Linked DNA regions of Homo sapiens: region 1 is linked to region 2. Evidence: promoter capture Hi-C in human tissues and cell types (Jung and others, 2019). All regions are on one chromosome and are shown on one strand. The core of a region is centred on a gene start or on the middle of the fragment in contact, and the rest is flanking DNA. Distances in the headings are between cores, read along the strand shown. Region 1 holds the start of PCDHGB1 (protocadherin gamma subfamily B, 1). Region 2 overlaps PCDHGA1 (protocadherin gamma subfamily A, 1).

Region 1 (3,324 bases), core at 150-2,649, 110 kb before region 2:
AAGAATCCACTACAACAGAAAGGGAGGAGAAGTTCATAGTAAAAGGAATGGAAAGTATAAAGGCATGATGCAAGGAAACAAGTGAAAAGGTATCTTAAGAAAACAGATAATAGGCTGTTTCGAATAGAGTATGAGTATGGGTGAGCACTGCAAAATAGTAGAATAAATTGTTGAGTTGGATCTCATTTGGTAATGCATTTGAAATAAAGGGATTTGCTTTGAACCAAGACTGGTTCTAAGCCTGGAACTACAGAATAAGTTCCAAAATTGGGTGTCTAAGAACTCTGAATACCTCTCCAATATTTACCAGTGGTCAAGTCAAACTCGTTTTGCTCATTAATGGTATAAGTCGGCTGGAGCTGAGAATTGGCATTATAGAGAATGTTTTTGAGACAGAGTCTTGCTCTGTCACCCAGGATGGACTTCAGTGGCATGATCTCAACTCACTGCAACCTCTGCCTCCTGAGTTAAGTGATTCTGCTGCCTCAACCTCCCGAGTAGCTGGCGTTACAGGTACCCGCCACCATGCCTGGATAATTTTTATTTTTTTTAGTAGAGATGGCTTGCACCATGTTGGACAGGCTAGTCTCAAACTCCTGACCTCATGTGTTCTTCCCACCTTGGCCTCCCAAAGTGCTGGGATCACAGGTCACTGCACCCAGCCTAGAGTATTTAATATACATTCATATAAAAAAGAAGCACTGGTTTCATAAAACAAATGTACATTATATGAGATTCCACTTCATAAAAGCATGTATGTGTACCCCAACACTAAATTGGCCCTTTTAACAAAATATCAGACTTTGTCCTACTTAACTGGAAAGATTATCTATATTTTATAAAGAAGAGAAATAACATAATAGTAAGGCTGTGATTTCCTCTTTTTTGCAAAAACTATTTTTGAAAAGTATTACTGAATTGATAACATATATATGGAGAGATTTAAAATACTAGATAAGGGAGCTTATTCCAATGAATTTACAGAAAGGTAGGTATTTTAGTCAACTAAAAATATAAATAAAAATTATCAATTCACTTATTTGGATACAGCAGTCATGCCAGAGTTTATAAATATAGTGAAATCACTGAAGATTTTTTTTTACCCCCAAAACTGAAAAAAATGGCAGTGTACCTTGTGAATTTTTTAAATGAAAAAAGAATACGAAATGATGAAGGCCCTTATCTGATGATGACAAACTAGAAAACTGAAATGTAAAGGGGAAAATGTGAGTATGTGTTTCCCTCCAGCAAATTAAAGACAGGGTACATAGATTCAAGAGGTTGCGCTTTGAGGATAAAAAGCTGGGCCCTGTGCAGTTTTCCAAGACAACCTCTGGGCGCCGCTGTCGACCAAAAGGAAGTGAAGGCTTCTCAATTCTGCAGGAGCGTCAGGCAGGGTGCCTTCCTGCTTTGTCCGGTGCACTGAGCACAGACGCTGCTCCTGTTCACCCTCGAGCGCCTAACTAATAAGTCCTAAGCTCAAATCACAGAAGTCCAGGGTGCTGCCATTTCTTTTTGAAAAACATCCCAGAGGAAAGAAGCTCCGCGGAGAGTTCCTGAAATGCAGAGAGCCAGAGAAGCCGAAATGATGAAAAGTCAGGTACTGTTTCCCTTCCTGCTGTCTTTGTTCTGCGGGGCCATCTCCCAGCAGATCCGATACACGATTCCAGAGGAGCTAGCCAACGGCTCACGGGTGGGGAAACTTGCCAAGGATCTGGGGCTCAGTGTCCGGGAGTTGCCAACTCGAAAACTGCGGGTTAGTGCAGAGGATTATTTCAACGTTAGTTTGGAGAGCGGGGATTTGTTAGTGAACGGTAGGATAGATCGAGAGAAGATTTGCGGAAGGAAACTTGAGTGTGCACTAGAATTCGAAACGGTCGCTGAAAACCCAATGAATGTTTTCCACGTGGTTGTTGTAATCCAAGATATTAATGACAATGCACCACGTTTCGTTGCAAAAGGCATTGACTTAGAAATTTGTGAGTCAGCCTTACCCGGGGTAAAATTCTCTCTGGATTCTGCTCAAGATGCAGATGTGGAAGGCAATTCACTGAAGTTATACACCATCAACCCCAATCAATACTTCTCTCTGTCAACGAAGGAAAGTCCTGATGGAAGTAAATATCCGGTATTACTGCTGGAAAAACCTCTAGACAGGGAACATCAGAGCTCTCATCGCTTAATCCTGACTGCCATGGATGGCGGGGACCCGCCTCTAAGCGGCACCACCCATATCTGGATCCGAGTTACGGATGCCAATGATAATGCTCCCGTGTTTAGCCAGGAGGTATACAGGGTTAGCCTCCAAGAAAACGTACCGTGGGGAACCTCCGTGCTGCGGGTGATGGCCACAGACCAGGATGAGGGCATTAATGCAGAGATCACCTATGCCTTCCTCAATTCCCCAATAAGTACCAGCCTCTTCAATCTCAATCCAAATACTGGCGACATCACAACCAATGGCACATTGGATTTTGAAGAGACAAGTAGATATGTGTTGAGTGTGGAAGCTAAGGATGGAGGAGTACACACAGCTCACTGTAATGTTCAAATAGAAATTGTTGACGAGAATGACAATGCCCCAGAGGTGACATTCATGTCCTTCTCTAACCAGATTCCAGAGGATTCAGACCTTGGAACTGTAATAGCCCTCATAAAAGTGCGAGACAAGGATTCTGGGCAAAATGGCATGGTGACATGCTATACTCAGGAAGAAGTTCCTTTCAAATTAGAATCCACCTCGAAGAATTATTACAAGCTGGTGATTGCTGGAGCCCTAAACCGGGAGCAGACAGCAGACTACAACGTCACAATCATAGCCACCGACAAGGGCAAACCAGCCCTTTCCTCCAGGACAAGCATCACCCTGCACATCTCCGACATCAACGACAATGCACCTGTTTTCCATCAGGCCTCCTATGTGGTCCACGTGTCTGAGAACAACCCACCTGGCGCCTCCATTGCACAAGTAAGCGCCTCCGACCCGGATTTGGGACCCAACGGCAGAGTCTCCTACTCTATTCTGGCCAGTGACCTGGAGCCGCGGGAGCTGTTGTCCTACGTGTCCGTGAGCCCGCAGAGCGGGGTGGTGTTCGCGCAGCGCGCCTTCGACCACGAGCAGCTGCGCGCCTTCGAGCTCACACTGCAGGCCAGGGACCAGGGCTCCCCCGCGCTCAGCGCCAACGTGAGCCTGCGCGTGTTGGTGGGCGACCTCAATGACAATGCGCCACGGGTGCTGTACCCCGCGCTGGGGCCTGATGGCTCCGCCCTCTTCGATATGGTGCCACGCGCCGCAGAGCCCGGCTACCTGGTGACCAAGGTGGT
Region 2 (3,192 bases), core at 70-2,569:
AAGGCTATCTTTTCCCCACCAAATAATCTTAGCACCTTAATCAAAAATCATTTGGCCATGGACATATGTAGGTGTGGGTTTTTTCTGGGCTCTCTGTGTTAGATGGATAGATAGACAGATACAGATATATAACTGTGTTTACACATATGTAACTGTAAACACAGTTATATATCTATATATCCACCAACAGTTGAATGAGAATAAACTATTGTTATAAGCATATATACACATTGTATATATATGTGTACATATACATATTGCATATGTATGTATACATATATACACACAAAGTATATATATGTATGTATACATATATACACACTTAAAGTAATGGCCTCCAGTTCGATCCAAGTTGCTGCAAAGGACATTATTTCATGCCTTTTCGTGGCTGAGTAATATTCCATGGTGTATATATATATATGTGTGTGTGTATATATATGTATTATGTATATATATATGTGTGTGTGTGTGTGTGTGTGTATATATATATATGTGTATATATATATACCACATTTTCTTTATCCACTCATTAGTCGATGGGGACTTAGGTTGGTTTCACATTTTTGCAATTGTGAATTGTGCTGCTATAAACATATGTGTCCAAGTGTCTTTTTCATATAATTACTTATTTTCCTTTGGGTAGATACCCAATAGTGGGATTGCTGGATTGAATGGTAGATCTGTTTTTTGCTCTTTAGAGAATCTCCATACTGTTTTCCATAGAGGTTGTACTAATTTATATTCCCAGCAGCAATGTGTAAGTGTTCTCTTTTCCCCACATCCACACCAACATCTATTGTTTTTTGACTTTTTAATAATGGCCATTCTTGCAGGACCAAGGTGGTAGCTCGTTGTGGTTTTAATTTGCATTTTCCTGATGATTAGCGATGTTGAGCATTTTTTCATATGTTTGTGGGCCATTTGTATACCTTCTTTTGAGAAATGGCTATTTGTGTCCTTTGCCTACTTTTTAATGGGATTGTGTTTTATTTTTCTTGGTGATTTGTTAGTTCCTTGTAGATTCTGGATACTAGTCCTTTGTCAGATGTGTACTTTGCAAAGATAATATTTTGGATGTTATATTTCCATTATAATTTAGTTCAAAGTATTTTCTAATACACCTTGCAATTTCTTCTTTGACCCATGGATTATTTTAAAGTTTGTTATTTTGTTTGTTTATTTTGAGACAGAGTTTCACTTTTTTTGCCCAGGCTGGAGTGCAGTGGCACAATCCCGGCTCCCAGATTCAAGCGATTCTCCTGCCTCAGCCTCCCAAGTAGCTGGGATTACAGGTGCCCACCACCACACCCAGCTAATTTTTTTTTCTTTTTTTTTTGAGACAGAGTTTTGCTCTTGTTGCCCAGGCTGGAGTGCAATGGCACGATCTCGGCTCACTGCAACCTCTGCCTCCTGGGTTCCAGCAATTCTCCTGCCTCAACCTCCTGAGTAGCTGGGATTCCAGGCATATGCCACCACGCCAGGCTAATTTTGTATTTTTAATAGAGACGGGGTTTCTTCATGTTGGTCAGGCGGGTCTTGAACTCCCGACCTCAGGTGATCTGCCCGCCTTGGCCTCCCAAAATGCTGGGATTACAGGCATGAGCCACTGCACCCAGTCCAATTTTTTGTATTTTTAGTAGAGATGGGGTTTCATCATGTTGGCCAGGCTGGTCTTGAACTCCTGACCTCAGGTGATCCGCCTGCCTCGGCCTCCCAAAGTGCAGGGATTACAGGTATGAGCCACCATGACCAGCCTAAAGTGTATTGTTTAGTCACCAAATATGTAAGTATTACCCAAATATATTTGTCACTGATTTCTAATTTAATTGTATTGTGATCCAAAAATATACATTGTATAGTTTCTATTCTTTTAAATTCGTTAACATTTCTTTTATGGCACAGAATATGGTCTATCTTGGTGAGTGTTGCTTACACACAACTGTGTAACTGAAAACTGTGTATTCTGCTTCTCGTGGTTGTTGTATCCTATAATTGTCAACTAGATCAAGTTAGTAAGAGTGTTGTTCAGTGATCTTTTCTTCTTCAGTGTTTACTGTATTTGCTAATCCCATCCAGTGAAGTTTCCATTTCATATATTGTATTTTTCACTTTTAGAAGTTCCATTTGACTCTTTCATTTCCATCCTCAATTATCTTCATATTTTTCTTTAAATTTTTGAGCACATTTATAATGGAGGTTTTAAAGTCCTTGTCTGCTAATTTTGTCACCTCTGTAATTCCTATGATGATTTTCTTCCTGGCTTGGGGTCATAATTTGTTGCTTATTTGCATGTCTAATAATGTTTTTATTGGACAGCAGACATTGTAAATGTTATATTTTTGAGTGTTTGGATTTTGTCTTTCTTTAAGAACTATTGCAGTTTGTTTTGGAAGGCTATTATGTTTTTTGCAGATCAGGTTGATCTTTTCAAGGCTTGTTTTTAAGCTTTGTTAGGACAGGTCTGTAGTAACTTTTGCCTTGGGCTAATTTAGACCTACCACTTAATTCTGACTTTTTTGATTAATCTGAGTGTTCAGCAGGGTCTCTTTATTATGGCTAAATGAAATTCAAACATTTTCCAGCCCTATGTGACCATCAAGAATTCAGCTAATAGCTCCCTGGCAGTTCTTCGCCCAGCTGCAGAAAAGTGTCAGTGCACTCTATGTATGCTCAGATTATTATTTAGCCAAAGACTTGGGGATCCATATTAATATTCCTGGAGTTCTTTGTGTAGCTCCATTCTCTTTAGTACTCTATCCCATAAATTCTGGCTGCCTCAATCTCCTAATCTCCCCAAACTCTAATATCTATTCCTCAACTCAGCAAAACCATGGTGTTATTCTTGGATTTCCCCTTTCCTGCCCCACAGTCTGAAAGTTGTCTCCAGGCAAAAAAAATGGAGATCCTAGTTTGCGGATCCTCATTTCCTTCTCCTTTTTTTTTTTTTTTTTTTTTTTTTTTTGAGATGGAGTCTCGCTCTGTCACCCAGGCTGGAGTGACGTGGCGTGATCTCGGCTTACTAGAAACTCCGGCTCCCGGGTTCATGCCATTCTCCTGCCTCAGCCTCCCGAGTAGCTGGGACTACAGGTGCCTGCCACCATGCCCGGCTAATTTTTTGTATTTTGTTTAGTAGAGACGGGGTTTCACCGTGTTAGCCAGGATGGTCTGGATGACCTCGTGATCTGCTCACCT

Evidence for each region. Contacts are between HindIII fragments. The study calls those that stand out against the background at their distance.
Region 1: a contact is called between the fragment with the promoter of PCDHGB1 here and a fragment that was not itself captured in region 2, in 2 of the 25 tissues and cell types used here (H1 embryonic stem cells and heart left ventricle).

Annotation. Positions count from the first base shown.
Region 1 is chr5:141,348,700-141,352,023 of GRCh38, forward strand. PCDHGB1 (protocadherin gamma subfamily B, 1) reads left to right here and starts at 1,400. Exons shown (of 4, transcript NM_018922.3): 1 at 1,400-3,324. The coding sequence starts at 1,562. The region is part of intron 1 of PCDHGA1 (protocadherin gamma subfamily A, 1); the gene reads left to right. All of the region lies in intron 1 of PCDHGA2 (protocadherin gamma subfamily A, 2), which reads left to right. The region is part of intron 1 of PCDHGA3 (protocadherin gamma subfamily A, 3); the gene reads left to right. It also overlaps PCDHG@. The HindIII fragment of the contact is 8,983 bases long and covers 1-3,324 here.
Region 2 is chr5:141,460,505-141,463,696 of GRCh38, forward strand. The region is part of intron 1 of PCDHGA1 (protocadherin gamma subfamily A, 1); the gene reads left to right. The region is part of intron 1 of PCDHGA2 (protocadherin gamma subfamily A, 2); the gene reads left to right. All of the region lies in intron 1 of PCDHGA3 (protocadherin gamma subfamily A, 3), which reads left to right. The region is part of intron 1 of PCDHGB1 (protocadherin gamma subfamily B, 1); the gene reads left to right. It also overlaps PCDHGA4, PCDHGB2, PCDHGA5, PCDHGB3, PCDHGA6 and PCDHGA7, and 10 more genes. Among named protein-coding and RNA genes, the nearest start is that of PCDHGC3, 14 kb to the right of the region's middle. The HindIII fragment of the contact is 8,589 bases long and covers 1-3,192 here.